Regions from separate parts of the Homo sapiens genome. Here all the other regions are linked to region 1. Evidence: promoter capture Hi-C in human tissues and cell types (Jung and others, 2019). All regions are on one chromosome and are shown on one strand. Each heading gives the region's core, a stretch centred on a gene start or on the middle of the fragment in contact. The rest is flanking DNA. Distances are from core to core; before and after follow the strand shown.

The links. Contacts are between HindIII fragments. The study calls those that stand out against the background at their distance.
Region 2: a contact is called between a fragment that was not itself captured here and the fragment with the promoter of IGFBP3 in region 1, in 1 of the 25 tissues and cell types used here (dorsolateral prefrontal cortex).
Region 3: a contact is called between a fragment that was not itself captured here and the fragment with the promoter of IGFBP3 in region 1, in 1 of the 25 tissues and cell types used here (mesenchymal stem cells).
Region 4: a fragment that was not itself captured here is called in contact with the fragment with the promoter of IGFBP3 in region 1 in 1 of the 25 tissues and cell types used here (dorsolateral prefrontal cortex).
Region 5: a fragment that was not itself captured here is called in contact with the fragment with the promoter of IGFBP3 in region 1 in 1 of the 25 tissues and cell types used here (IMR-90 fibroblasts).
Region 6: a fragment that was not itself captured here is called in contact with the fragment with the promoter of IGFBP3 in region 1 in 1 of the 25 tissues and cell types used here (lymphoblastoid cells).
Region 7: a fragment that was not itself captured here is called in contact with the fragment with the promoter of IGFBP3 in region 1 in 1 of the 25 tissues and cell types used here (mesenchymal stem cells).

The regions. Positions count from the first base shown.
Region 1 is chr7:45,919,042-45,923,282 of GRCh38, reverse strand. IGFBP3 (insulin like growth factor binding protein 3) reads left to right here and starts at 2,011. Exons shown (of 5, transcript NM_000598.5): 1 at 2,011-2,545. The coding sequence starts at 2,143. RefSeq lists enhancers at 1,047-1,627, 1,628-2,208. The HindIII fragment of the contact is 8,943 bases long and covers 1-4,241 here.
Region 2 is chr7:46,917,456-46,921,696 of GRCh38, reverse strand. All of the region lies in intron 1 of LOC124901626 (a long non-coding RNA gene), which reads left to right. Among named protein-coding and RNA genes, the nearest start is that of SNORD151, 550 kb to the left of the region's middle. The HindIII fragment of the contact is 3,578 bases long and covers 9-3,586 here.
Region 3 is chr7:46,896,977-46,901,217 of GRCh38, reverse strand. All of the region lies in intron 1 of LOC124901626 (a long non-coding RNA gene), which reads left to right. Among named protein-coding and RNA genes, the nearest start is that of SNORD151, 570 kb to the left of the region's middle. The HindIII fragment of the contact is 6,970 bases long and covers 1-4,241 here.
Region 4 is chr7:46,859,263-46,863,503 of GRCh38, reverse strand. No RefSeq gene overlaps it. Among named protein-coding and RNA genes, the nearest start is that of SNORD151, 600 kb to the left of the region's middle. The HindIII fragment of the contact is 4,673 bases long and covers 1-4,241 here.
Region 5 is chr7:46,810,924-46,815,164 of GRCh38, reverse strand. No RefSeq gene overlaps it. Among named protein-coding and RNA genes, the nearest start is that of SNORD151, 650 kb to the left of the region's middle. The HindIII fragment of the contact is 3,306 bases long and covers 767-4,072 here.
Region 6 is chr7:46,765,343-46,769,583 of GRCh38, reverse strand. No RefSeq gene overlaps it. Among named protein-coding and RNA genes, the nearest start is that of SNORD151, 700 kb to the left of the region's middle. The HindIII fragment of the contact is 5,034 bases long and covers 1-4,241 here.
Region 7 is chr7:46,744,650-46,748,890 of GRCh38, reverse strand. No RefSeq gene overlaps it. Among named protein-coding and RNA genes, the nearest start is that of SNORD151, 720 kb to the left of the region's middle. The HindIII fragment of the contact is 4,039 bases long and covers 172-4,210 here.

The sequences.
Region 1 (4,241 bases), core at 762-3,261:
TCCCCTGTCCACTCTCCAGATGATAAAGCTGAATAAAAAGTGCTACACTAACCAGTGGTCAGTCCAGGCTCTGCTGCAACATTGCACTAACCAGAACTGCAGACCTGGGACCTCAAGAATTGCATTTGATGCCGAACCCAGCTCTAATTTCAGAGTCAAGGTCTCTGCGAGTATTTAAGGAACGGATGTAAACCTGGGGGATTCGTTTTGTTTCCTTCAATTTTCCAATGAAATCAGAGATCCTGTTCTTGGGTGTCAACGCAGATACTAGAAGGAGGTGATACAAGAGAAAGGAAACAGCAAGCGACGATTATGGCACGGTTTCCTGTAAACAAGGTTGAGTGTAGCCACAGCCTGAGCACTGTGGGAGAAGAGCTCATAAGAAAATGACGGTGCTGGGCCTTCGTCACCCCGGGGCACTCCATTGTTCTTGTCTTTGGTCTCTTTTTATTTGTAGAGGTCCAATTATTTATTTATTTAGTACAAGAGGGAACGAAATTGATCTTTCCATTCTAAAAGGAGAGTATATATGTATAAAAGGAAGCTGTATAGATATGGGGGAAGAGGTGGACAGGGGGAAAAGGGGAGAGGACGAGAGAGAGAAAGGGAGGGAGAGGGACAAGGAGAGACACTGGGCGAGAGATCGATTAGGAGAGACAGAAATGATGAATGAAGATTAACTTCACCCAAGGCTTCGTGCTGGAGGGGAATGGAGGAGCTCCTGATTTGCTATTACTACTCCAAACTGCAAAGGGCTCCTTCAAGTCACCTATCCACCTCCTAAGGCAAGCGTCCAATTTCAACAGCGTTCAGGAAAGTCTCCTCCCGCGGAGGTCTCACCGCTTCCCACTCCACCCCCACAAACTCTTTGGAAAAGTGCCTTGAAAAATTTAATCCTCAATCCAATCCTGGACCACCAGCGTCCTCTGTTGGTCACCGAAGGGAGGGGGTGCGCAGACAAAACTGAAGAAACTCGAGTGCCAGAGAAGGCCGACAGGAGTTACAGCGACCTCAGCGCGCAATTGCGCCCCCGAACTTTACTGAAAAGTGTTTAGATTGCAGAGATAAGCTAGAATCCCAACGCATCGAGAATACAGTAATACGAAGTCGCCTTCAAAAAATGACAATGAAAATTGCCTATTAAAGGACTATTTGGTTAATTACGTTTCAGCAGTGCCCAGTTTATTGTCTTTATTATTCTTTTGTCATGGGTGTAAACTCCATTTGAAAACATAATCAGGGAGAATACCCAAGACAAGAAGAACAGTTGTCATTTAAAATATTTGAAAAGCCCTGCCTTAAGGACGCATTCGCTTGCCGGTCCACTCTTAATTGGAGACTTGCGGTGTAGCAACACGTGAGAGTCTTCTTGCGTTGAGAAGTAAGCCTGGAAAGGGGCGAAGGCCCCGGGCGCATCTTCAGATGCGTATTTGTGGGCCCCTGGGGATATAAACAGCCCAGCGGGTGTAAATTAAACCCCGCAGTGCCTTGGCTCCCTGAGACCCAAATGTAAGTCAGAAATGTCCCAAGACTTCGCCTGCCAACGGAATTAAATTTTAGAAAGCTCCACGAGGTACACACGAATGCGGAGCGCTGTATGCCAGTTTCCCCGACACCGGCTCGCCGCAGGGAGACCTCACCCCGAGAGCGGAAGGGGTAAGGGCGGCGGGGTCAAGGAGATCGGGGGTGCTGAGTTGGCCAGGAGTGACTGGGGTGACCGGGGGTGCTGAGGTGGCCTGGAGTGCCGGGGTGGCCGGGCACACCTTGGTTCTTGTAGACGACAAGGTGACCCGGGCTCCGGGCGTGCGCACGAGGAGCAGGTGCCCGGGCGAGTCTCGAGCTGCACGCCCCCGAGCTCGGCCCCGGCTGCTCAGGGCGAAGCACGGGCCCCCGCAGCCGTGCCTGCGCCGACCCGCCCCCCTCCCAACCCCCACTCCTGGGCGCGCCGTTCCGGGGCGTGTCCTGGGCCACCCCGGCTTCTATATAGCGGCCGGCGCGCCCGGGCCGCCCAGATGCGAGCACTGCGGCTGGGCGCTGAGGATCAGCCGCTTCCTGCCTGGATTCCACAGCTTCGCGCCGTGTACTGTCGCCCCATCCCTGCGCGCCCAGCCTGCCAAGCAGCGTGCCCCGGTTGCAGGCGTCATGCAGCGGGCGCGACCCACGCTCTGGGCCGCTGCGCTGACTCTGCTGGTGCTGCTCCGCGGGCCGCCGGTGGCGCGGGCTGGCGCGAGCTCGGCGGGCTTGGGTCCCGTGGTGCGCTGCGAGCCGTGCGACGCGCGTGCACTGGCCCAGTGCGCGCCTCCGCCCGCCGTGTGCGCGGAGCTGGTGCGCGAGCCGGGCTGCGGCTGCTGCCTGACGTGCGCACTGAGCGAGGGCCAGCCGTGCGGCATCTACACCGAGCGCTGTGGCTCCGGCCTTCGCTGCCAGCCGTCGCCCGACGAGGCGCGACCGCTGCAGGCGCTGCTGGACGGCCGCGGGCTCTGCGTCAACGCTAGTGCCGTCAGCCGCCTGCGCGCCTACCTGCTGCCAGCGCCGCCAGCTCCAGGTGAGCCGCCCGCGCCAGGTGCGCTGCGTGCAGCACCCGGCGCACTGGCGCCGAAGGGCCTGGGGGTTGCTGGGTGCCGCTGCGGGAGACTCCGCTTTTCTTCTCACTGGAGATAATATGTGGGGAAACTGAAGGCGCTCCGGGAAAGGTGAAGGCGGTCGCCGGAGGGACCCTCCCCAGCCGGCCCTCTACTTGCTCGATTCTCTAAGTGCAGAGTACTTGTAAATTGCAAAGCGCTTTCAGTGAAAATGGGTTAAAGGTTTCCGGAGCTGAGGGGAGCGGTACCGATGTTTAGCTGTTGGAAAGATCCTGGACACAGGAGATTCTCCTCGCCCCGCACGGGGGTGCACACGGACTGCAATCCCAGGGATGCTTGGGGATGGGGGGGATATAGGCGGATTTGGACCAAGGAAGGTGGGCAGGCACGTTGTAGGAAATAGTACCTCTCTTTTAAAATACTGACTTTGCACAGCCTTTTGGTTTGCAAAGCAATGTCTAGTCCCGGTATGTCCAAAAACAAGTAAAGTGGATTCGGGTTTTGATATCTTCTGCGGTTGGAAAACCTGAAGCTGAAAAAGAAGTAACTTCTTAAGGTTACCCAGCGGCCACAACAGAGTGTAGGTTTGAACTCCGCGTGCCACTTTCAGTACCATACCATTCTTACAACTCGGGCCACCCCTGCACCTGCGCCGACCTCAAACAAACTTCCAGGTGCGTGGTGGGTGCGGGCAATGTGGACTAAGTCAATTTCAATGACACGGAAGGGAATTGGAATCAGTCCTAGGGCTGTCTCCCTTCTTAATCTGAAATGGGGGGGGGAATGAGATGTTGTTAAGGGGAGCCCCAGAAGAGGAAAAATGCAAACATTTGGCAGAGTTACCCTCTTGGCTTAGCCACTATCAGTATCAGGCAGACAGCGACTCTGGTAAGGGCATCACATTGTTCCCTTAAAAAAAGGAGCGGGGGTTGTTTAAATGGATTTGGCAGCTGTTCTTTCAAGCATTCTTAGCCAGCCTCACCTAGTTATATGAGAAATAAAGTTCCTGCCTTGCACAGCTGAAGGCTGGGAGAATTCTCCCCATCCTAATTCCCCCAACTCCCCAACGATCACGTTGGACAGATGTCACTGGGCAGGCCCCCATCTAGGGCTAGCAGGATGAACAGTCCCTTTATAATTTATGTAGCTGTAGAGTTCCACGCCCGGGTGAAGTTATTTTCTGGCTCGGCAAGGCTGGCTCTGTTCACCCCTGAGAAATGCTGGATTCATGGAAAGGCAAGATGCCTGAAACATACACTGGCTCTGGTCAGCTGTTAAAGCTGCTGGAGGCATTTGTCTCTCGGGGCAAAGTTATGTCATTTGCCAAGTGTCGTACATTATTGTGCATTTTGGGGTATTCAAAAAGTGATCTTAGAAATACTGATACACATCGTCATTCTTGGGCTTTAGCAATCATCATGATTACCACCTTAGTAGCACTGTAGTATAGGTTGATGTGAGTTATAAGATTATAAAAAGATCTAAGTGACTTCTAGAATCTATTTGACAAAAAAAGGTAAATTTTCGACAGTCAAAAGTCACAATTATCTGTTGCTTAAATAGAACTGTTTTGTCTTCATGCCCTAGTCTGCAGCCCAGGCATTAAGAAGAAACCAAGGAAATTTAAGAAATTACTCAAGGTTCTTAGAAAAGAAGTAT
Region 2 (4,241 bases), core at 548-3,047, 1.0 Mb before region 1:
TATTTTCTCCTGAGTTTCTCATAAATTTTCTTTTTCATGATTGCAGATATACATATATTTAATTTTATTTTTCAGATTCTTTGTTTTAAATTTTTTGTCTTATAAAAATAAAATTTTATTTTATCTGTAGATTCTTTATCTTAATAAGTTTCAATTTCTTGTTGCTATTTCTTAACTATTTCAATCTCACTTTTTTGTTTTTTAAATTTTGTTTTATTCTGTTTTTTTCCATTTTATTTTTCAATCTCACTTTTTAAATTGAACGCTTTTTTATTACCAGAAAAAAAATGCTTAGTTTATTTATTCTCAATGTTTTTATTTAACATAAAATTTTTTAAAGGTTAAAGATTGGAAACATCCAATGGGTTTTAATATAAAGCTTTTTCCTTGTTTTTATTATAAAATAATCTTAATTTCAGAGTTGAGGTCCTTTTGGATTCCAAGAATTTTTAATAGTTTTCTTTAATCAGTTCCATGTTTTTATTTTTGATGGTGATGTTTTGTAGTTATTTTCATTTCTACTTGATTGCATTAAGGACAAAAACATAAACTACAATTTAGCAACATTTTGGTATTTATTAAGGTACATTTTGAAAAAAATGCATAAATAATTTTATAAATGTCTCACTGTAATAAAAGATTGTGCCATCTCATTTTGTGAGGTACCAAGTAACAGACACAAACAGTAACAGTGAGCACTTTCAAAGTGGAAGAGGTTGTACTGGACACCAGCCATGACCACTTCTCAAAATTTCTTGTTTGATAATGTGTGCTACTTTTTAAAATCAGATAATTTATGAAAGAACTAACAATTTTTCAGTGTTACATAATATGGTAATGAAAATTATTATGCAAAAAGCTCTTGACTTATGTGGAGTTGTGATCAGTTAAATGAGGCCAAAGAGAACAATCAATTTTAGTGATTCTTATTCCTGAATTGCCACACTGTGTTTCCAAATAGCCATATTGAGTAGTTTGTTCCCAGGGCTAAAAGAGTGGGCACATTTTTCAGTCCTCAGGCACTCTTTACAGTCTTCTATGGGGTCCTCAGAGAAATAGCAACTGAAATCCACAGTAGCAGCTGCCACTTGTGACTGCACCAAGCATGTGTTAATGGAAACATTGGCTTTTACATAAACGGACGTGCTCATTTCTTGTCCCATGTCCCATCAGTCTAAGCGTCCATCCTCTCGCCACAAGTGGATTTACAGTGATTATACAAAGACAAGTTGAGTTTAATGGTTTTATTAAGTGGGATGCAATAAGATAAATCTAGATTTTTTGATAGGATTGTCAGTGATGAGGAACCCCTCTAAAAAGAATGTAAAGGCTACCTACCTGTCTGCTAATGCTATGGCATGAAGACAATTCATATGTCTTTGAAGACCTCAATTATATCATTTTTGCCCATAGATTAACTATGTGATGTTTGATTAGTTTGCCAGTTGCTTATTCATAAATGTGTTATATGTTTAACATAATCTGTAAGGCTTCTTACACTAAACCTTCCATATTTCTAAATTTTATATAACTGTATTAATGTTAAAAATAAATAGACAATTTCATAAAGAACAACACTTTTTTGGCATCATTCAATGTGGAAAAAAGGCTGAGAGAGTTGGTGGACCCAAGCTATTGGTGACCTGTCAATTTAATCTACCCTTAACTGAGCAATGTAGTCAATGACAGCTGGTATACCTGTGTACTAATCCTGGATTATCTGTGAGATAGTGAACAAACCTCTTAACTTCTAAGGGTCTTTGTTTTGTTTCCACATCTATAAAAAGGGATTCTTCAGTGTTTTGTGAGACATTAGGTATGACTGTGTTCTGTTAGCTACACGGTTCATTATTAGTGTAACACAGCATCATTAAAATAGAAGCAAACAAGTTATAGTACATGTAGATCATATTACACTTGGTTCTAGGCACCACTTATAAATAATAGAAAAGCAGATAGATGCATAAGATGCCTCAAGAGGACGATGCATGTGAGATGCTGTGGTCTCAATGTCCCCCCAAAATGCAAACATTGAAATCCTGAAAGTGATGGTGTTGAGTGGAAGGGCCTTCAGGCAGAGCCCTCATGAATGAGATTCGTGCCCTTATCAAAGAAACTCCAGAGAGCTCTATGGCTCTCCGTCCGCAATATGAAGACATGAAGAATGTGCCGTCTATGAGGAACAGGCTTTCATCAGACACTGAAACTGCTGGCCTTGGATTTCCAACCTCGAGAACTATAAGAAATGAATTTCTCTTGTTTATAAGCCAGTCTATGGTATTTTTAAATAGCAGCTTGAACAAACTAAGACATAAGGTGTCTGAAAATTGTATCCTACTATAATATCCTGAGAGATCTGGGCCTGTTTACCCATGAAAAGGAAATTCAGTGGTGTGCACACAGATGGCTTTATGAAGACTTATCATGATTGTGATTAGAGGTGAGTGAAATATTTTGAGCTTCCCAAGGATGCAGACTCAAAAAGAAAGCATACCAGAGGGGATATTTTTACTTAATATGGTATCATTTCACAAAGAAAAGAAAAGAAATCCCTTTTCTTTCAAAGTTGTGAGCTCCTAGTTACTAGTCATAATCAAGAAAAGTTGGGTGATCATCTTCCAGGAATTCTGTAGACAGGAGTCCTGTCTTGGGTAGACTGTTTTATAAGTGAAAAATCATTTTTTATCCAATGATTCTACATTCTAATAAAATCTTCCATCAGAAGTACTCTTGATTAAAAAACAACATGAAATAAGTTATGTTGTTACTACTTATAAATGTGGAATTCCAGGGTAATAACATTAATTGCTGGTATGAAGCCTCAGTTTTTCTATCCGTTACTTGTTCAGACGCACCCTTATGATGTGAGGCAGGCATTCTTGCTCCGGTGCTTGAAGGGAAAAACAGAAGCTCAGAGAGGTTAAATGGCCCATATGAAGCCAAATAAAAACCAGCAGAGCAAAGGCTCAGAATACTGTTTTATTTTAGATGTTAATCCAGGGGTCTGTCCCCAGGGACAAGTAATAGGAGACTTGCCAGGGATTTGCTCAGCCATCATTCTCTAGGTTCGCACACGTTCTCCCATGTACACAGGGAGACATCTCTGCCTGCTCTTCTCTCAGCTCAGGTCGTCCTCATTGTGTGGAGCAGCATAAGGGGCTGGTGAGACTGCTGAGAATTTTATGCAACAGAGAGAGGTAGAGATGTGGGTCTGTGGTTGGTCTTCATTTTTTTAAAACTCAGGCTCTCCATCAATAAATTTTTAGCTCTCTGATTTTATCTATATTTATATATTAGAAATCTTACACATTTACTACTGCATAGATATGGCATACTTGTTGAGAAGCATTTGAAACTACAGAAAATTTAAAATGATTATATAAAATCAATACAACAAGAAGGTGACAACACCTCTGTATAAAGGATGCTTTGGGAGACATGCAGGGTCAAGGAGTCCCATTAGTTGATGGAACAACAGTCCTGGAGGCAAAAGAGGAGGGCTTAAATGTTAGCCGTGACAATCTCTGTCTCCCTCAGGCCCAGAACACCACAAATGCTTCCTCTTAGTACTGTCCTTTTTAGCTGTGTCACGAGTTAACAAGATCTGCTATGTCTTGGAGGAGAAAGTGCTTTGTGAGTAGGACTTATTGCGGTGTTTGCGACCCGGACTTAAGAGCAGTAAATATATTCTAGCACCCGTGACCCAAGAAAGCAACAGGTCCTACTGTGTATGTAAAGGTAGCATCATTAAAGCTGTTATTGTTTGCATATGTGGATATTGGAGCTCTAAGGAAGAACTGAGTTACTAGTAATGAATAGTATAAGAGAAACAATAAAAATGTAACATGTTTCTTGCTAATTTTTCATTTATCTTGAAAAACCAGCTTTTTTTTTAGCAATTTCTGATTCCCTAGGCACAATTAATGTCTCCCTCTGCTGTAGTCTTATTGAATTTTCTATTGAAATGCTCATCATACCCCATTGGTTTTCTCTCTTGTTTTTGTTTTGTTGTTGTTGTTGTTGTTTGTTTTGTTTGTTTGTTTGATTTTGAGATCGAGTCTTGCCCTGTCGCCAGGCTGGAGTGCAGCGGCGTGATCTTGGCTCATTGCAACCTCTGCCTTCTGGGTTCAAGAGATTCTCCTGCTTCAGCCTCCTGCGTAGCTGGGACTACAGGCGTGCACCACCATGCTTGGGTAATTTTTTGCAATTTAGTAGAGATGTGGTTTCACCATATTGGCCAA
Region 3 (4,241 bases), core at 1,020-3,519, 980 kb before region 1:
CAGCTGCTGGAGCCAACCATCGGGGCATTCATGGGCAGTCCATCTCTATAAGCATGCAGGTCTTGCAGTTGATCTATAACTGCCTGCAGCCCAGGTTCCAGCTGTCTCTCTAAATCTACTGGGCCAGGGCAAAGAGTCTCATTGCTTATTGAAGAATTTCTTTATGAGCCTCCTGCCTTGAGTGCTGGCAGATGTAATTTGTTGCCTTTATTATCTTGTAAAGATGTTAATCTCCAACCACAGCGAGGGGTTGCTTCTGTGATTGATTTTGCTTTGCTACTTGACAGGTTGAAGAGCTTGCAGAATCTCTGTGCCACGCTTGCCAAGGTTCTTGCATCCCTCATCTGTCATAGAGAAAGTGGTGGAGATAAAATTGTGCCAGCAGCACCTTGTCAAACCCCTGCTACAGGCATCCATTGTGAGTCATGGGATAAAGGATAAGAGAGCAGCCAGAGGCTTCAGCATCATATGTCTGAGTTCTGCAGAAAGGTTTGGAATCCACAGACTTTCACTACACTGTTGCCACTAAGTTGCACTCTGCCCCCAGCACAGGAAGATCTGGTCCAAAATGTACATAAAACAGCAAATGGGATATAGAAGTTGGGTTCTGCACTTGCAGACACTTCCTGTTTCGTACTATGGCCCTAGGCCAGCTCTTGTTCCTATCTGCATGTTCCGCTCACTCAGATCCATAGTCCCATCATGTGATTCTAGTTCTAGTCACCTGGTCTTCTCATAAATGGAGCTCTGGAGATGGGCACTGGGGTGACACTGTCTCTGAAGCCCGTGCTCTTGATCACTGTGTCTCATCCCATTGCCTCTGCCAATGGCTGGCTGGAGCAATGAATGCTATGAAGCTGACAAAATCACAATTCTGTACAGAGATCCACAGACACATACAGAAAACAAAAACTGAGGACATTTAGAAATAGAGGCTTAGCAAATATATCAAAGACTGTATTTGTTTCCTTTTGCTGCCATAACAAATATTTGCAAACGGAGCTGCTTAAAACAACATGCAACTCACTGTCCTGTAAATCAGAAGTCTGGGAGGAGCATGGCTCATCTGGGCTTCCAGGCTAAAATCCAGGTGTCAGAAGGACACTGTTTCTTTCTGGGGTCTCGGGATGATTCTGCCTCCAAGTTCCTGCAGGTTAGCAGAAGTCAGTTCCTTGTGGTTGTAGGATTGCGTCTCTGTTTCCTTGCTAGCTGTCAGCTGGAGGTGATCTTTAGCATCCAGGTGCCACCTGTGTTCTTTGGTTTGTGGCCTTCCTCCTCCAGGTTCAAAGCCAGCAATGATGGTGAAGTCCTCACATTTCAATTATTTTTTCCTTCTGCCGTAATTCTGCCATCTCTTCTTTTCCCAGATAGCTGGAGACAGTTCTTTGTGAGGGCTCATGGATTAGGTTAGGCATACCCAGAAAATCCAGGATAGTCTCTCAATTTTAAGGGCCATAACTTAACTCACATCTGCAAAGCCCATCTTGCCATGCACTGTGGTAATTCATACATTCTACAGAGTGGGATGTGGGCATCTTTGGGGGGAGGAGGAAAGAGATGGAGATGAAAGCACATACAGTCCTGGAGAATAAAAACAGGGAATTCGGAGGAGTTAGAAATGAGAACGCTGTTGCAGGTAGTGAAAGTGACATAAAGATTTTGCAACATAATTTAAACAAAAATATCCATTTTATTACCTTTGACTTGAAGACAACAGGCCCACAAGGTCCCACCTTTTCAGTCTTTTGGACCCTCGCACTTACATTGTGACTTGAATAAAATATTAATTACTTTTAGATATCAAAGGGTAGGTGAGTCCAATAAGTGTTGGCACTGAGACAATAAATGATGGATCTTTCTAAAGTTTTTCTAAGTTTTGTCTTCCTGCGTCAAATTGGAAGGGCTTGTATGGAATTGTTAACTGAGGGAAGTTGAAGCCAATGCACACATACCTGGGAGAACTGGGGGAGTTAGTCAGGGTAATCTTCTTGCAGCTTGACATTTTCCAGTGTTCAACCCACATCTGGCCTCGTGGAGTCATTATTAGGGGAAAGGGCATGCATAGAATGTGGGGCCAGAATATCCGAGTCAAATCTGGATGCTAGAGTTTATAGTTATGTTATCTGGAGCAAGCTACTTAGCCTACTGGGGAATTTGTTTTCTTAGCTGTAAAAAGGGGGTATCACATCTAAAAGATTATTATAAGTCCTCAATAAACAGCAGTATAACTTGTTGTTAAGCATCTTACACTTCTCATATTTTTCCAATTTTTCCTCTGGATTTTTTCCAAATGTGTAGGCCACAGAAGTTAGTTTAGTATTCATATCCATGTAATGGATCTTTTCACAGTAAATAATTGTCCAAGATTCCACAGAGTGGCCTCCAGCCTGAAAAGGATGGTGAAGGCCTGCCATGGAGGAAGAGTCGAAGGACTTGGGGAGTCTTACCTGCAGAAGAGAAGGCCCAGGGAGTCATGGGTTGAAGCATATGAAATTGATGATATTCAGCCATTTTGACCTAAAAATTGGTAATTTCATAAGACTCAACATAATAGATGAAAACTTTTCCAGGCATCCTGCAGCCTGTCACGGGAAACATAAACTGAGTCAGTATATACATCAACAAAATAAAGACCTATCAATTAATTAGTGGGAACTTGCTTGGAAACAGCCAATGTAAGGAAGGATTTCAGCACAGTTAAACAGTCTAAAGATGCAATAAGCTATTATTAGAGACACCATTTCCTGTCAGTGGAGATGTTCAAGAATAACCTGGACTACCACATGGTAATTCAATCCTCAAATATCAGTTTTTCACTTTACAAATTTTAAGCCCCCTCTCACCCCAAGATTTTGAATTTTAGACTTAAATAGTCTAAACAATTATTATTTAGCATTCAAATCCAGTGTATGTGATATATAAACTTTTAAAGGTTATTAATAGAATGTGGAAAGTTAATTAAATACATAATTTATCTTGTTTTACTAGGTTAATATTTATTCCCTATCTATTTCCAAAATAGCTAAGGTAGATTATTAACCTAAAATGTAAAAGTAGGAGTAAACACATCAGAAGAAATATAATTTATAATCATTTTGCATTACTTAAAAGTGCATCTCATAATTCTGTAAATTATAAAAATCATTTAGCTGATCCCTGACATGAAAGCCCATTGAGTTCCTTAGTTTTCTGCTAATTTAAAAAAATATATTTTTTAAGTATTTATTTTATTTTATAGAGATAGGATCTCCCTGTGTTGCCCAGACTAGTATCAAATTTCTGTCCTCAAGGGTTCCTCTTGCCTCAGCCTCCCAAAATGCTGAAAATACAGGTGTGAGATACTGTGTCTGGCCAGAAAACAAAACAAAACAAAAACAAAAACATAACCCCAAATTATTATTTTATATTATTAAAATATTCAGAAGCAGCATTGTTTTCTGAAATTCCTCATTATAATTATATATTCTGCCCAGTTTATAGGCCATTATAATGTAATGTAAATTTGTGGATTGGCTTTTTATTTTTCTTACAAAGAAAAACTTAAACATTTCCATTAAGTCAGTCTTCCTCCTCCCGGGCCTGGCTCCCTTCTCCACATCTGCTTACCAGGGTGACCTCAGTGTCTTGGGATCGAGCCTTTCCATGACAGCCCTCATGTAGAGACCTCCAGCCTAGACCCAGGTGGGTGCAGCAGTGATCTCACTGGCTTGCTGAAGGATTCTCGCCTTCCTGCAGTCTAACAAGCTCTCAGAAGGCTTTCAGCCAGAGCTGGGCCCATGGTAAAGAGAGCAGCTCAGGAAGCCTGGGTCTCGCCTGAAGTGCTAATGCACCCCAGAGATCCCATTCCAAAAGACAGGGAGCTGGTGGCATTGGCCTTTCCTCAAACTCTCAGACAAAGCACCCCACATATGACTCTGGGCTAGGGGTGAGTGCTCTCTCTGTCTCTCTCTCTTTTTAACTAAGCAAGATAGAAAAAATATTAAGATAGACATGAATACAGGTTAAGAGAATGGAGTATTAGTCTTGGCTCTCTCTAGATTCTCTTGTTCATTTTCCCATTGAACTGGGAAGAATCGGGTCAAGGAACAGGAAGCACCAGGGCACCGAGAGCAGCATCTTCCCTGGACGTTTCTATCATAGATCATCCTAACGAGAGTTTTCTTTTGTGATAAGGAGGATGATAATAATGTCTTCTTCCTGTGATCTGAAACCCCAGGGAGGGAGAGTATTCCATCTGCACC
Region 4 (4,241 bases), core at 728-3,227, 940 kb before region 1:
GGCTACTTTGTGGGTGAGGGAGTGTGTGTGGGGGGAAAATGGGTGTGTCCATGTGAGAAAGAGGGGGCGGGTGCTTTAGATGATGAGTGTGAGTGTGAGAGGTGACATGTTCAAGGCTTATTAGGGAGGCTTGTGGAAAAGGGGGCTCTGTGTGTGTGAAGTGGTGGGTCTACATATGAGGGGTGTCCAGGGAATAGGCATGGGCTGCATGTTGGGAGGTGTGTGGTGTCAGGAAGTGTGTGGTGTGTGTGTGTGTGTGTGTGTGTGTGTGTGTGTGAGGGATAGCTGTGGACTAGGCTGAGAGAGAATGGTGTGCAGGCCTGAGGCATGTGTATGAAGTATGCGAGAACCTCCCCATGAGGGCTTGTGTGGAAGTATGTATGTGGACATGGGAGGATGGGCAGTGCCCCTATGTGTGTCTAGAAGCAGTGCCCGAGAACACACAAGAAAATACTAGAAGAATAGACAATGGGAGAGAGAAACAGAGAAACAGTGTGAGATGGAGTGGGGTGCAGAATTTAGAGTTTGTGCCTGAGAGATGGTGATGGTGAGCATGTCCTTGCCCTACAGAGGGTGGGACCTATGCACATATATGGGAGTGAACACATGTATACATATTGGATGTGGATGTGACTACACGTGAGTGTGATGCCATCACTTATGTCGGCGTTGGGGGACCATGTGGTGTGTGGGTGTTGGGAGACAGATCTGTTGTGGGAGGGGGACTGGCCATGCACATGTGACTGTGTGGGTGGCTCTGTGTGTCTGGCGACTACACCCCCAGGGTGTGCATGTACACATGTATTATACTATATTGCATGTCACTCACAGGGTTTAGATGCAATCCCACTAATTTTCACTGTGATAATTGTTCCTATGGTGCACCTGGGGGTCAGGGAAGTGCCACTCAGTTTGCAAAGACATATGTTGAGCTATGAGCAAAAATGGCAGGGTCTCTGTTTAGAGGGGTCTAGCTCCTTCTACCTGTCTTCACTATAACTGTCTACATTTGATTAAATTTTTAAAAAGTAGAACCAGATATGTGCAGGAAAATCTCATCTTTCCATCCTAAACCCTTCAGTTCAAATAGTCCCAACATCAACCAACATTTAGTAATTCCAATGGTTTTAAAAAACAAAATTACTAAAACAAAAACAAAGCCCACAGACTGTGCCTCTGGTACTGAACTGTCTTTCTATTTCAGTTCTGCAGAGCTGAAAGAACACAGAGTGACTTGGTGTTTCCATACCATCTTTTCTGTAGTAGGAAACTACATTTGAGACATAAACTGCATGGGGCCGTCTGAGTCGGGCCCCTGCGGGGAAAGGATTAACAGCTTTGGAGACCTGGACCAGAACCAGCCAGAGCCCCTTTCTGACCCTTGGTATAAAACCTTCCTGTTCTTTGGTCTCTCTCATCTTTCTCAGGGGCGGATCCAAAGTGCACTTCAAGCCCCCAAAACTCACCTTCTCCCCTTAACACATGGAAGGGGGCTGGGCTTCTCGGCTCATATAAAAAAACCGAGGTTTGTCAGTGACCAATTCCCTCAAATTCCTACACCTCTTGTACTCACACATTTCTTTCTCCTTTCTTCTTCCCTTCCCTCCTAAATCCCAGAAATGAAGGACATCCTTTCCCCACCCAGGCGGTCCTGAGAGCTATGCTTTTCCAGTCCTTCCTGGCCCATCTGTCTGAACCACCCTCCTCCTCTTAACTCTCACCGGCCTCCTCCCCTTTAAGCATAAATATGCTCACCCCGCCATTCTCAGAGGGCCTCCCTCTAGCCTCTCCTCGGCTTCCATCTAGTCCTGCATCGTCCAGCTCTGTAGCTCTCTCATTGGTGTTGGCTGTCCCCATCCGCAGTCCTCATTGGCTTTAATTCCCTCCCCGCTCAACATGCTCCCTTCCCTGGGTCCCTGTGAAAGCACACTCTGGGCACTGTTCTCAGCAAAAAGAGGACTAGTGGGATGAAAACAATGAGCATCTTACAGAGGAGGAGCCAGAGGTTGGGCAGCAAACATCACATCCAGGTGTGCCCGTTAGGCAGTAATGGCAGGCTGGGCCAGACCCATGGCTCGTATTCAGCCAGGCTTTTCCCATGCTTCTTTGCTGACTTACTTCCTCCTGGAATTGCTCCACAAAGAATCCTCAGGAACCTGTTATCTAATTCCTGCTGAAGAATGGGACCACTCACAACTCACGTGCTGCTTTAGGACAGTGGTTCTCACATCATGGGAGCACGTGGCAATGCGGAGACATTTGTGGCTGCCACAGTTGGGGAGGTGCACAAGGAGGCGGCTACTGGCTTCTAATGGAAGAAACCAGGGATAGTGCTAAACATCTTATAATGCATAGAACAGTTCCCCACCACACAACATGATTTTGAGACCCCAAACATGCAGCTTGAGGAAAACAATAAGAAGAAAGGCATATTTTATGCATTTTTTCTCTTGTCGAGAAATGAAGGGAAGAAAAGGAAGACATAGAGGGAGGGTGAGGTGGAGGAGGGAGGAATGGGGTGAATGAGAAATTGTATTTGCTGGCGGAGATCTAATAGCGGTGGGGCTGGAGAATGAGATCCCTGCCACCTAACCCTCCCATCAAGAGGCCGGCTGTGAAGAAAGACTTCAGAGCAGGCAGGGGGCAGATAGGATCTCAGCTCCTCCGCAGGGTGCTGGGCCCGCTGCCTCCACCACTGGAGTTCACAAACTCTAGAAAGTGCAGAAGCCTTCACTGCAGAATGGAGATGGTGGTAGCACCTCCGCCTGGGGGTTTGAGGCTTAGCCAGGGTGATCAAAGGACAAGGCTGTGTTAAAATTCAGAGCACTATGAACCCATTTGTCAACTTCAGATAGAAGGAAAAGTGGAAAGTTGAAATGGAATCAAGAAGAGGAAGCAAAGAGCAGTTGTGGCCAGTGGAAATGGGTCAGAGGTGGGTTTACGGAAAGGTAAGAGAATGGGGAGAGAGGCAAGACATTGGATAATTAACAGAATTACAAAAGAAGTGGAGCCTTTCATGAGGGAAGGGAGTGAAGGGACGGATGGGAGGGCAGGGCAGTGCAGGACAAGAGGGGGAAATGTAGGGTCAGGAGAGAGGGAGGGAAAGGAAAGCTCAGGCGATGGGAAGGAGGGGCCAGCACGTGTGAGTCAGGGAAAGTTGGCCTGCCAAGGGCCCGGAAATGACATGAGAAATAAGGACACATGTTATCTGGTTTGGACAGAGAGTGATGCCATTAAAGGGGATGCCCAGTGCTGAGACAGACGAACAAAGATAGCTTTGATGAGAGAGGAGCTGGGAAAGGAGCAGGTGGGCAGCTAGAGTGGGAAGGAAGGGGCCTGTGACAGCGATGGCTGTGGGTGGGTGACTGGCAGGGAAAAGGAAGTGAGCTCAGGTTTCCTGGCAAGGAGACATGCTTCCCAGAGGATGAGCTGCCTGAATCAAGCCATTAACAGCTGCCAAGTGATTCCAGCAGACAGTATGCCTCTTTCAATTAGATTTCATATCCATGAGTAATGAGCTGGGTCACATCTTTCCATGCATCAAAAGATGAAGGTTGCTTCATTTTAAGCTGCCCAGTTATATCCTTTCGGAAGGAAATTTCAAACCAAGGAGTTGTCTTCACTTTTTGTTTCTGAAAGGAAAACATCTAGTAACAAATTTTTGCATTTCCCCAAAATCTGGGAGTAAGGGTCGGGGGTGGTGATGGATAAAAACTACACATTGGGTACAGTGTGCACTGCTTAGGTGATGGGTGCAACAAAATCTCAGAAATCACCACTAAAGAACTTATTCATGTGATCAAACACCACCTGTTCCCCAAAAACCTATTGAAATAAAAAATATAAAATTTGAAAAAAAAAATTTTAAATTCTTCAGAAGATTTTCAGAGTTGGAATTCGGAGAAGCTTTAATGTCAGCTGGTTTTGAAATGTCAGATTTACTTACTCTACAGTTGTTCCTGGGCCCACAAAAATAGCAATGTATTTTAACATGTGGGGCTATAGTGGAGGAAATAGTCCCAATGCAGATATTTTCTAGAAAACGGAAGGAACTGAAAGGGGCCAAAGATCAGCCAGTGATAGAAAAGTGTTCTAGAAAGCTTAAATCTATTTCCCCAAGAGTCCAGAATTTAGGAGGCAGTGCTTGGGAAAGCAGTCTTTTCATATACCTGAGAGCCATTTGTATATATTTTTGGAGAGATATCTAGTCACGTTCTTTCTTAATTGGGTCCCATTTATTC
Region 5 (4,241 bases), core at 1,170-3,669, 890 kb before region 1:
TTTCTTTCTTTTTTTTTTTTGCCACATCTGTATCTCTCAGGGCTAAGCCTATTTTGGAGTTCACTTCCCTGTAACTTTGCATTGTCCAGATCCCCATGGACCTTGCTTTCCAAGCTGGTGGCATTGGCTGTAAATTCTCTGTTTTGCAAAGTTATTACTTCCAGAGATCTACCTCTTCTGAAACCAGTGTCTGAATAATGTGTCTCTTCTGTACCCACAGTATCTCTGACTTCAGCTCCTGGCAGTATATCTTCAGAGAGTGTTGTGCATTATTTCTGGAATGCCCAAGAGCTTAAGTCGTCGTACTGTTTGATCTTTTCACAGCCCTTTTAAGATTTTTCATGCCCTTACACAAAGTGAGAGCCTCTGGCAACTTCTCCCAGTTCAGTATGTTATTCACACAATCACTTGTCTGTGTACCCAATTATAGAGGAGATGTCATATCCTGGAGTCTGTAGCTTTTGAGGTTAGTTAGCACTTGCCTGTTTCTCTTCCTCCTGCTTCCCCTACACATCTTCTGGTCTTGTGTAAGACTTCCTGCTAGCATGTTTGGTTTGAACTACCATATTCAGGGAACCATATGATTTTGTATTACTAAGTTGTATGCAGTTATTATAGGTGGGTTTTTTCATTTTCTACCTTACTTGTGTATGTATTTTTTATATGTATATGTGTATACATATAAAATGGACTAGTTAGTCTCTAAGTTCTAACCAAGGGGCTGAACATTGCTGTAATGTTGCATTTAGGGAGAATCTGCAGCTCATATGTTATCCTTTTATAGGACCTGCCCCAGGGTGCATTCCCAGAGAGTTCAATTTTCTCCTGGGCACACAGGTAGACACCACTTCATGTTGAGTGTGAGTGGAAGTGACATGGTCATAGATGCTTCAAGGCCTGCAAGAAGCAGCTGTTCATTGTCCATCCTCTTTTCCCAATGACTTGATGTATGCAGATCAAAAAGTTGCCTCAGCCAGTCATGGAATCACAAGATGAATAACAACTCAATCCCTGAATCACGGGTATGCAGGGAAACACCTGTACACCTACAACGTACACCTCGGACTTTCTGTGTCCAAGAAACAAGAATAACTCATTTATAAATCGTCTGATATTTTAGTCAAAAAGTTAGACATTTTGGGATCTATTTGATACAAGTAACGTTATACTAATCAAACATCATGCTTGCAGGCTTTGGGAACTCCCTTGTCTGACATGCCTTAGTTTATGCTCAGGAAAGACAGACCATATTAAATGGGAGCCTAATTTAAGCATAATTAAGATCCTGTGTTCAGGAGTAAAAATCAGGAAAAAAAAACTAACAAAAACTAATAAATCAAACTTTTAATTAGATTAAGAAATGATCACTTTAAAATTATTCCATGTTTGGAATACTCCAGTTCATTCGTGGGTAGTCAGAAAGTGTGTTCATTAGTTGAGGCGTGGTGGAAAATGGTTTTGTTGACATTTCTTCCTGAGGATTATTAAATCCCATGCTAGTCTTACCAGGGGAAAAATCAGGACACCAAGGGAAACATCAGAGTTCTAACAAATATTATTTAATTTTAAACATATCTCAATTTTCAAGTTATAATAGGATGTCTTGGTAGCCAGGCTGGTGGGAAGCTAAGAGAAGAAAACGGCACACAACAGTTAAGGGTTTACGCTTATGCACTTACTATCAGTGCTTTGCTCAAGTTTCCGAGAAAAACTGAGGAAGCTTCTCCACCACCCTCAGAATGCTGGTTTTACCTTTTCCTTTCTTTTATGCAAGACTTTTTCCTGGGGTTCTCAACTTCCAACTTAAAAACTAACTGTAGTTATGTTCTAGGTTTTGTTTAGCTATTGTATGGTTTTCCTCTTGTTTCTATCAAGTTGCTTTTACGTTTACTCTTCCTGGGCTCTGCTGGTTTCTTGAACAACGACTATCTCTCTGGATGTCTTGCCTGAGCTTCTGTCGAGCCCAGATCAAGCCTCAGAGCCAGTGTCAACAAGGAAAACTGGTTCATAAGCTTTGGATGTGCTATCTTCCTCTGCATGGTCTGCAAGGGGACCATAAGTCCAGGGCCTCCAGGATCACCGAGACCATCTGCATCACAGCCCTGGAAGCTAAGGACCCATTCAGTTCCAGAATGTTCCTTGAAGCTTCTGCTTTCATCAGAAATGTTTCTCTTTGAACATATGCTGATTATTGAATCTGAGTGATCCTGACCCTCCCATTCCCTTGTCTTTTACAGGATCATGAGAATAGGCTGCTGGAAAGAATGGAAAGGCTTCCTCTTCTGAAACTGTGTGTGTGTGTGAGTCCTAGACAGACCCAGCCTAACTAAAAGTCTTCCTTTATCTTTTAAAAAAATATTCTTAACAGTCATATATATATCTATATTATATAATATATAGGTAACATTATTGTCTGTTTCCGTGCCCAGGGTAGTAGCCTTAGTAGTAGTAGTAACAATTATAAAAGTAATTAGCATTTGTTGTGGGCTGATGTGCCACACTCAGAGTTGTTCTTCACATATAAGACAACAAATTTTGCTTTTGAATCCAAAACAAAATAAATGCTTTCAAACTTTAACAATTTAAATTATTTTGCTCTAAGCTTGGTCAAAGCTGAATACGAGAGGCATTCATCATCAGCCTGTCTATGTTATAAAAGTGAAGTCAGTTTCTGGCAGGGAGTGAGGAGTGTTGGAGGGTTATCTCTGACTTGGTCTAAGCGGAAACATTTCTTAACGATATTTTCAGCTTAAGAAGAGATTTAAGCGATTTCCTAGTATCTGATTTTTTTTTCTGACCTAATGTAGTGTCAATACTCTCATGATTCCCTAATTAACTTCACAAAGGCTTGTATTATGTGAGCAGACCAACAGATGTTTCTCAGAAGTGACACCTCCCTCTCCCGTCCTTACAAAGGCGCATGTGCTGTGTGCCTGTGTGAGGACAGGTTATAGAGAGATGCTCACTGCTTGTTACCAGCAGCCAATTTTGGGAACCTGAAAACACTGAAAACTCTCTAAGAGTACCCATTATGCCCACTCCTCCACAGAAGGTGCAACCCGACCAGACAGATCTGCTTTTCCTAGAATGCCTCCGCTGCTCCCCTCTTGGTGCCTGAATGTGGATCTCATTGGAGGGGGGTTTCCAAGGTACCACACCAGTAATTGTTCTGTAGATCTTTTACTGTGAGTAAGCTGCAGTTAACAGTTGCCTCATGACTTTTAATTAGGGTGAAATCGAATGCAGCCCCGATTCCAGACCTTCCCACAATATCACCACCTCTCCATAATAGAGGAAAAAACTGAATGGTACACAGGGCTGCTCAGCCCCTCATACACATGGATTTTCTCCAGCTCCTTGCAGTGATCATCAGCCCTTGGGACCTTGTGGTTTGCCCATCCCTCCGGCTTCCATCTGGGTGATGTCATCCTGCAGTCCCCCACAGCTCTGAGATGCGCTGGATGATGCTATTATTAGCAAGCCTGAGCTCAAGGCCAACTGGCTTGTCTGTTGGCCTCACACTGTCATGAATAGGCTTAATTGCTCACACCCTTTCAGTGGGTTTTTTGAATAGACATTTTTATTAACTTAGCATTCTTCCCAGCTGTCTTGAAGCAAGAAGTGAGGGTGAAGAGCAGTGGGAGGGGTACCCTCAACCTCCTCTCTCCTCAGACAGATAAAAGAGCAAGGTGGGCATGGGGAGGGAGAGCCTCTTACTGGCCACGCTTAATAGGGATGTTTGGCCATCTCTAGGGTGAGAAGCCCTTTTGAGCCCACAGCCCAGTAAACCTGACTTGTCTGAACAGAGGGGACATTGTACCTGAGGTCACCGTGGCCAAACAGCACGATGAGAGGAGGCACTAGGCAGCTTCCTTCCTGGCAACCTTGATTTCAGGGCCACATGGAGTCTCACACTCTAACTCTCACTCTGTGTCTTACTCTTCCTCTAGCCAATTGCTAGAGGAAAGGAGGATTACATGTTCTTGGGAAATTTAGCACATGTTCTTGGTTTTCTGTGGCTGTACACTTATATGATGAATGAAGGGCTGTCTCTTATCTGATCAGTTCTGAACCTTCCAAAAAGGCAGTGATATGAACAGGAGGCAGGGAGATACTGGGTAGACGAAGGCAGTTCCCTGGCAAAGGCCCCACCCTTAAGCCTGGAAACCCGCTGCCCTGTATGGGAAGAGGCGTTTCTGTTTTCATGCCCAATTTTTGCCTTTTGGCCCACCACACTCCCC
Region 6 (4,241 bases), core at 479-2,978, 850 kb before region 1:
AAAGGAGTCGGCAAAGGGAGATAGGGGTGGGACAGTTTTATAGGATTTGGGTAAGTAGTGGAAAATTACAGTTAAAGTGGGTTGTTCTCTTGTGGGCAGGGGCAGGGGTCACAAGGTGCTCGGTGGGGAGCTCCTGAGATTCATTGTCCAGGAGAAGGAATGTCACGAGGTCAATTGATCAGTTAGGGTGGGGCAGGAACAAATTATCACAATGGTGGAATGTCATCAGTTAAGGCAGGAACTGGCTATTTTCGCTTCTTTTGTGGTTCTTCAGTTGCTTCAGGCCATCTGTATGTATACGTGCAGGTCACAGATGATATGATGGCTTAGCTTGGGCCCAGAGGCCTGACAAATTCCTTCAGAGATCCCTTCCACATATAGAAACACACACACAAAGACAAGATGGACAGAAGGTGATATTGGTTAGTGGTGTCCCCACCCAAATCTCACCTAGAATTATAGTTCCCATAATCCCCACATGTTGTGGGAGGGACCCAGTGGGACATAATTGAATCATGGGGGTAATTACAGCATGCTCTTTTGATAGTGAGAGAGTTCTCATGAAATCTGATGGTTTTATAAGGGGCTTTCCCTGCTTTGCTCAGCACTTCTTCTTCCAGCTGCCATGTGAAGAAAGACATGTTTGTTTCCCCTCCTGCCATGATTATAAGTTTCCTGAGACCTCCCCAGCCCCGCAGAATTGTGAGTCAATTAAACCTCTTTCCTTTATAAATTATCCAGTTTTGGGCAGTTCTTTACAGCAGTGTGAAAACGGACTGATACAGAAGGCTTTCCATATTAAGATCCCTAACCAAGAATTCCCAGAGTATCCCTTCCAAACTCTCCTCCTATTGTCCTCCTAAGAAATCTCCCCAAAATCTTCCTGATTGAGGAGAAGTCTTCTGAACCAAGACTCTTCCTACTAATTAGGGAGGGCCAACTGAGACCCCTGAAGGAGCTGAACCAAGACAGACACTCTGCAATGAGGCTACAGACAGACACTCCACCATGGTGCTACAGAATCAATCAGGAGAAGGAAGGAGGCATTGGCAATGCCTACGATACTCACTGAAACAGACATCCCATGATAGGGCTACAGCTACAGACATTTCATGACTGGGCTACAGACAGACACCCTGGGATAGGGCTACAATTATGGGACATCTCCCCAGAACAATTTCTCTATTGGAATTAAATCCATGCACAGGGTGAGCAGCACCCCATCAGTAGATACAGTACCAGAGTCAGCCCCCAGTCCAAGAAAACTAAGCAGCCTCTTGGGCTGGCCTCTGAATCCACTACTGGAGGGAAGCTACCAAAGCACGGGCAGGCAGCCACAAGGGCAATCTTGGATGAGCTCCCCAAATTTGTAACCACCCAGTGGGTTCACCTTGTCTGCTGCTTAGACAGAGCCAATTTATAGAAACAGGAAAATTGCAATAGAGAAATAATAATTCACACAGAGCTGGTTGTGCACAAGACCAGAGTTTTATTGTTACTCGTATCAGTCTCCTCACTTGTACTTTCTAAACTTTCTTCCTATAAAGGTTTCAGAGGCTTTTCTCTAGTGTTGTAGTCACGTTTTATTCAAGAGCAAGTCATAAGAGGGCAGTGAAACTAGCTTTAAAAGAAAGGGACATTATTCCAAGCCCTTCTGAGAGCCTCAGTTGGTCTGTGTTGATATGAGGACATCAGGATGGCTTCCACTCAGCTGCAGGGTCTGCTCTGAGATCACATGACTTGTATTTTAATTCCACCTTCTGTGGTTTGTCTGATGTGGAAGCATCTGTGGAACCTGTCTGAGCCTCACTATAATTTGAAATCATAGCAGTACCTGGGTACACATCTATTGTGAAATCCATAGCATTCTCATGTCAGTGCGGCTCATCCATCCAAACCCATGTGATCATTGAGCAGTTTCTGGGTTAAACCTTAGTGTTAGGAGAGGGATGATCATGGACAGAAAAACAAATGAATGACCCCTGCTGTGATAGACACATGAGTTCATCATAATATTAATATTTATTAATATTGTTTCACTAAGTTGTATTGTTTTATCAATGTATTTATACTGTTTAATGAACATTACCCATTTGATCTAGTAATCAAATACAATTGCCATTTATTGTCTTTACTATATTGTTTGACAATGTGAAGAATATAAATACATGAACAAAATGATCTTCAGAGAGCCAAAACCTTGCTGGGTAAACACCATATTAAATAACTGGAGGCTTGTGAGTTTGAACTTTTAGGAAATTTCAGCTGCAAGGAACAGGAAATCCAAATCAAAGTGGTCTAAGGGTGATGAGCTTTATGGTTTCCCACAAGCCAGCACCCCAAGGTCAGGAGCAGAGTCTCACAGCTGCCCTTCTGCTTCAGGAGTGCCTCTGGTTGGGATTCTCTTTGCTGACTCTGTTCTTAGGCTGGGAGAAAATAACGATGGCAGCATTAGAGCCCACATCTGTGTAATGCCACTTTCAGAGAAGCTGTTTTTTATTTTTCTGTTCAGAGTCAGAAAATATTTCCCAGAGTGTTCAGAAGCTGTCCCTTATTGCCAGATCTTATCAATATGTTCTTTCCTGCATAACCCCCACCTCAGGGGGACATCCACGCAGAGTGGCTCCAGCTTGCCATGCACAGGCCTCATAGAGGCAGTCTGCATAGAGTTGCATGGCTGGGACTGTTCGAGGAGGCAGAACTCCCTAGCATGAAGGCCTAGACTTCACGGCATGCTCAGTGTAAGGACAACCCTAATTCATACAACAGCCCACAACTCATATTGGGAGACCCATCGTTCACAGATTCATGCTCCTTCTCTTCATTTCACATGTAAAATGCCCATCTCCACAAAAAACATACTGAGTTCTCTGCCAAACAGAGAAACCCAAAGCCTCATCCAATACTGCATTCAAAACCAAGTCCAGAATATCTGGCTCATGCAGCTTCTGCTCTGTCATGTTCCTCCTATCACCACAAAACTCACCCTGCAAAACCCAACATGTAGTGGTATTGAAAGGGGAGATCGCAGTAGCAAAAAGTCACTCTTACATGAAGCAATATGAAAAACACACTCTGACGACCAGTTGTTGCCAGTTCCCCTGCCTAGGTACAGAGTGGACACCTTGTTCAGCAAATCCAGCCTCCTGGTACTGTTCATTCTAAGAATCTCCACTGCCCTGAGGACCATGCAGCTCGAATCTGCCCTGGGAAGGCTCACCTCACCCACTGAATTGCAGCTAAGGTACCGGACGTCCTTCCCGATTCTACTTTAATAATGTAAATCTTATTGCTGCAAATTGAGCTGAGGAGATGCTGTGAGGGTGCTCACCTTAGAAGTACACAAGCCAAGACTTGGATTTCTTTGGCAGTTTGAATCCTTTAAATGGTTACTATCTTCTTCTAGTCAAGTAATGGTCTTGTCTGCCCCTTTCCTTTGAGTCTGGAAATTTCTGTCTCTTAGCAACATGCTGCTGCCACTGTCCCCCTAGGATCAAGCTTAACAGACTCAACTTTCTTCCAGCCACAGCTTTGGGACATTTAGATGAAAAAAAAGATCGTGGAATCAGGATACATTTGAGTTGTACCTTCTCAGAAACTGCCTTGCCCTCTGGCAGGTCAACAGTGCCTAAGGGGGTGCTCAGCAGGTGATATGTTTTGGCTGTGTGTCCCCAACAAAATTTCGAATTGTAGTAATCCCCATGTGTTGTGGGAAGGACCTGGTGGGAGGTAATTGAATCATGGTGGTGAGTTTTTCCCGTGCTGTCCTTGTGATAGTGAATAAGTCTCATGAGAGCTGATGGTTTTATAAAAAGGAGTTCTCCTGCACATGCTCTCTTGCCTGCTGCCATGTAAGATGTGCCTTTGGTATTCCTTTGGCTTCCACTATGATTGTGATGTCTCCCCAGCCATGCAGAACTGCAAGTCCATTAAACCTCTTTTTCTTCATAAATCACCCAGTCTCAGGTATGTCTTTATTAGCAGCGTGAGAACGAACTCATACAGCAGGGTTCAAATTTGTTTCATGTCTCATCTATCTCCTGCTAAACTTTGCACCTACCTACCTAGTCTCCTAACACAGATTTTTACTTGGGATCAAATGGTATCTTTTTAACTCCAAGAAATGGCTTAAGTTTCTGTCTTATTTTTGAAATGTATTCCACTGGCAAAGAGAGTTTTGGCCTTTCTTGCCATTTTACTTTCAGACAGGTCATCTTCAAGCCTTGCTGTTACTTGACTCG
Region 7 (4,241 bases), core at 942-3,441, 830 kb before region 1:
GGGTGGTTAGAGGTGTTTTTATTTCTAGGTTGACATTTGAGCAGCCATCTGGGAGGAGAAGTAAACGTGATTCAGGAGAAGATAGAAGTGAGGGCAAAGACCCTGAAGCAGGGGGCTCTTAAGGGGGTGCTGGTACACCAACAGCCAAGAGGGGGTGTCTGGATGAGATGGAGTTGCAGAGGAAATTAGATAGTGCAGGGGGGTCTTTAGGTGATCTGGGCCCCAAATGCCAAGAATGCAAGGTAAGTAGGAGACCATAAGTTCCTCTCCATCTCTGAAATTCTAACATGCTTTATTTTTATTCATTCCTGATCATACAAAATCAACACAGTTAAACACACCAGCTCCTTTGGGATTATCCACATGGATATTAGCTTTCCAGGTTCAGTACTAAGTGTGAAAAACAAAAGCTTTCTTTAGTAGAAAAGATGTCATGTGGGCATAAATTTTCATGCAAATTCACAAAGGCTGATTGTCAATTTAGGCCTTAAAACCACAATACTGCAACACAGTTCTATTCACTTTTTCCACGGAAACCATACAAAATTGTATACAAGTACTTCTCGTCTAAATGAATGCTCTTTGTAATAAACTCCACTTCGGGAATTCAGGAAGAATCAAGCAATATTTACAAGAAAAAGATAAGAAGAGGATGGGTTACTGGTTTAATTTAAATCTTCTTAGAATTGTTTTGTTTTTCACTGGGTATGTGGGTTAACAATGTGGTTCAGACCTTTCGGGAACCATTTCTTTAAAATGATGTGTGATTGGGAAGGGTGGGATTCCAGAAAGCCACAGATGCTAACAGTAAATCACCTTGACCTTGACCTAACCAGGAAAAAAGCAAAACAAAAACTTACATAGAAAAGGAACTTTGGCAAGCCCCAACATTTCCAGCTTTTAAAGTGTCTAGATACTCACTGAGGTAACGTAGGTCCTGGTGTGAATAAGAGGTTTCTCCACAGGCCAAGTGTGAACACATTGCTTTTCTGTCCTTTCTCTTGGACAGAGAATCCTCCGCTAAGACTGGTGTGTGTGTGTGTGTGTGTGTGTGTGTGTGTGTGTGTGTGTGTGACAGAATCCCACTCTTGTCACTCAGGCTGGAGGGCAGTGGCGCGATCTCAGCTCACTGCAATCTACGCCTCCCAGGTTCAAGCGATTCTCCTGCCTCAGCCTCCTGAGTAGCTGGTATTACAGGTTCGTGCCACCACACTCGACTAATTTTTGTATTTTTATTAGAGATAGGGTTTCACCATGTTGGCAGGCTGGTCTTGAACTCCTGACCTCAAGTGATCTGCCTGCCTTGGCCTCACAAACTGCTGGGATTACAGGTGTGAGTCACTGCACCCAACCAAGACCGATTTTTATTGTGGTTTTCCTGGGGAGCCAGAACGGAGTTGTGAAAACAGCAGAGATAGCACAGACCCTGACCTGGCCCTGCAGGGGTGAGCGCATCTGTAAACACTGACCCTCCAGAGAGTCACAGGAAGTATATGCACCACCACAAACACACACACATCGATTCCACTCACCTCTGTGTGTAGTTCACAGCACATACTCGACAAGTGCCAGTTGTCAAAGAATTTTGCAGGCCAGGTGATTTTTACCCTCACTGGTGTCTAGAGGGAGGAAGGAGGGTACAGCATGCAGTAGAGGGAGGCTCGTGTGCTCTGACACATCTGCCTGGGGGAGCGACACTTCCTATATATTTTGCACCTAGTCTAGTGCGCCTCCTCACATATCACTGCTTTCTTGATAAGCTGAGTGGTAGACATCCTTAAACACCACCACAAAGTAGTGAGAGTTAAGGCTGAGACTACATCCCCGAATTCAGATATGCCCTATCCTCAATCTCATTCTGTGATGGCAAAAGGAGAGCATCTCCTTTGTGGCCAAAGGATTTTAGTTTCTGGAAATGACTGAGTGACTACACATAGAGGTCAGTGCCACTGAAAGAAAATTTATTGCTTCTATTTCCCAGGAGGAGGGGGCACACCACATCACGCAGGGCCATGCAGAAAGCTCAGGGAGGCTAGGAGACAGAAGGAAGGGCCCAGCCAGAGCCTGTATTGAGGCTTCTGTGGAGAAGTAAAGGCAGGGATGGGTACACAGCGTAGGGTGGTCTCTGGTTGCCTGGTACTTGGCCCTGGGATGATTTAGGGTAGGGGCAATGTTGGCTTGCTGTGCGAGTTAGGGAAGAAGGTGGGGGCTCAGACTTGAATCAGCAGATCTGCATGTGAGAAGTGAATACAAGGCATTGGACTTAAAAGGAGAGAAGTGGACACTTTGGCTGAGAGTTGGGCCTTGTGAGGAATGGATGGCAAATATACATACAGAATCTAAGAAAACACAGAACAGAGGGGGCGGGTTTGGGGGAGATGATGTTTCCATTTTGGAACTTTTCAGTGCGGAGCTGTAGGTATCTGGTGGCCACCCAGAGGGCAATCGGCAGGTGTTTGGACGTGTCTGTCTGAAGGTCAGAGCCAGTCCCCGCTGAAAAATCGGATGGGGAAGGAGTCTGCATGCAGCTTTGCCCCTGGATGGGTGGGCTCCAGAACATATGGGCAGGAGGAGCTGCTGCTCCTGCAGGACTTGGCCATATGGGGCTTCTCTCCATGTCCTCTGCCTTTACTGCAGCTCTGCTGTGAAATGTTGGGAAGCTGGAAAAGTTATTGTTGGTGTTTATTGTCCTTGTTTAGCATAAATCCGGTCAGAAAATGTCTGTTAAAACTAAAGGGAGAACATTGAGGAAACTTGGGAAAATGTGCTGGAATAAGGAGAACATCCCTCAAAATGCTTATTCCTCACTTAGGACAAACTGGGCACATGCTGTTTTGGACTAACTTTCAAGATAAAATTATTAACGTTGCCACTGAGGAAATTCAGATGGGAGGAAACTAAAGGGAACTGCAAAGGTGGTCTGGTACAGTAGCACGTGCAAGGTCCAATCCAGAGTCAGCTTGTACCACATTCTGGCAGCCAGAGGTGCTGTAGGATCAGGGCTCTGCTGCCTTAGACTGGACACATCCTGCCTCTTTCTTATTCTGTTGTTCTCTCTGGACTTAAGGCTGATTCTCTTTCCTGTTTGTAGATTATGTTTCCCAAAGTTTTGATGACCAGTTATACATGATGTTTTATATCATGCTTGCCAGACCACGCTTCCCACTGAAAAGGTGTAACAAAAAAAGCTGTGAGCTCCACCTCCATTTTCCAATTTCTTGTGAATTTTCTTTCCATTTTCCTTTAGAAATAGTTGTGAGTGTCAGCCTGTTCCATACCCTCCCTTGCAAGCTGTTAAATCCTACATGGATTTTATTTACTATTCAATCCTCTGCCTCATATATGCAGCAATTATTCCGTATCTGGTGACTCACTAGGAAATTCACTGAAAATTTATCACCACAATTCATTTAAGGCCACACTCTCTGTCAACCTCTGACTATAACCCATTCTTTTCTTTTACTCAACAGAATAATCGTAAAGTATTTCTTTATATTCCTTGTCGAGGTGAGTTTTTTTTCCCTGTAGATTATTCAGTTTATCCATCAGGTTTTGACTTTTTAAAACCACTTTCAATTTTAAGAAGACAATTTTTCAACATATAACCTCTAGTTTTATACTATCTCTCAGCTAAGCATGCAATCGTCTTCTGTTTACTGACTTTAGGTGCTATTTTTAGCAGTAAATATTATTCTGAACAACCCTCAGTAACGCTGAGATTATGGGTTTGAGGAATGCCAACATCAACAGAATCAGGTGTGGGAACTACCTGACAAGGGTTTTTAAAACAGCTGTCAAACATTCTATGACAGTCTATTACAGGCAAATGTAATACAGATAATTTCAGCAAGGAAATAGATTCATAAAAAAGAACAGGATCAAATTATAAAACTGATAAATACGATAACAGAAAAAAAAATTGCTGGATGGATTCAATAGTAGAGTGCAAATGAAAGAGATAAAATATGTGAAATTGAGTACAGAAAATTAGAATTCACCCAATCTGAACAACAGATAGAAACAGACTGAAAAAAATGATATAGAATGGAATAATTAATGGCCGAAGACTTGACAAATTTTGCAAAAGATACACACTTAAAAATTCAAGGCACTGAAAAAAAGCCCCATGAATAGATACTAAGACATATCATAATTGAAGTTCTAAAACAAATAAAAAAAATTAAAAGAAGCCAGAGAGGATCGACATGTTACCTACAACGGAACGCCAATTAAAATGACAT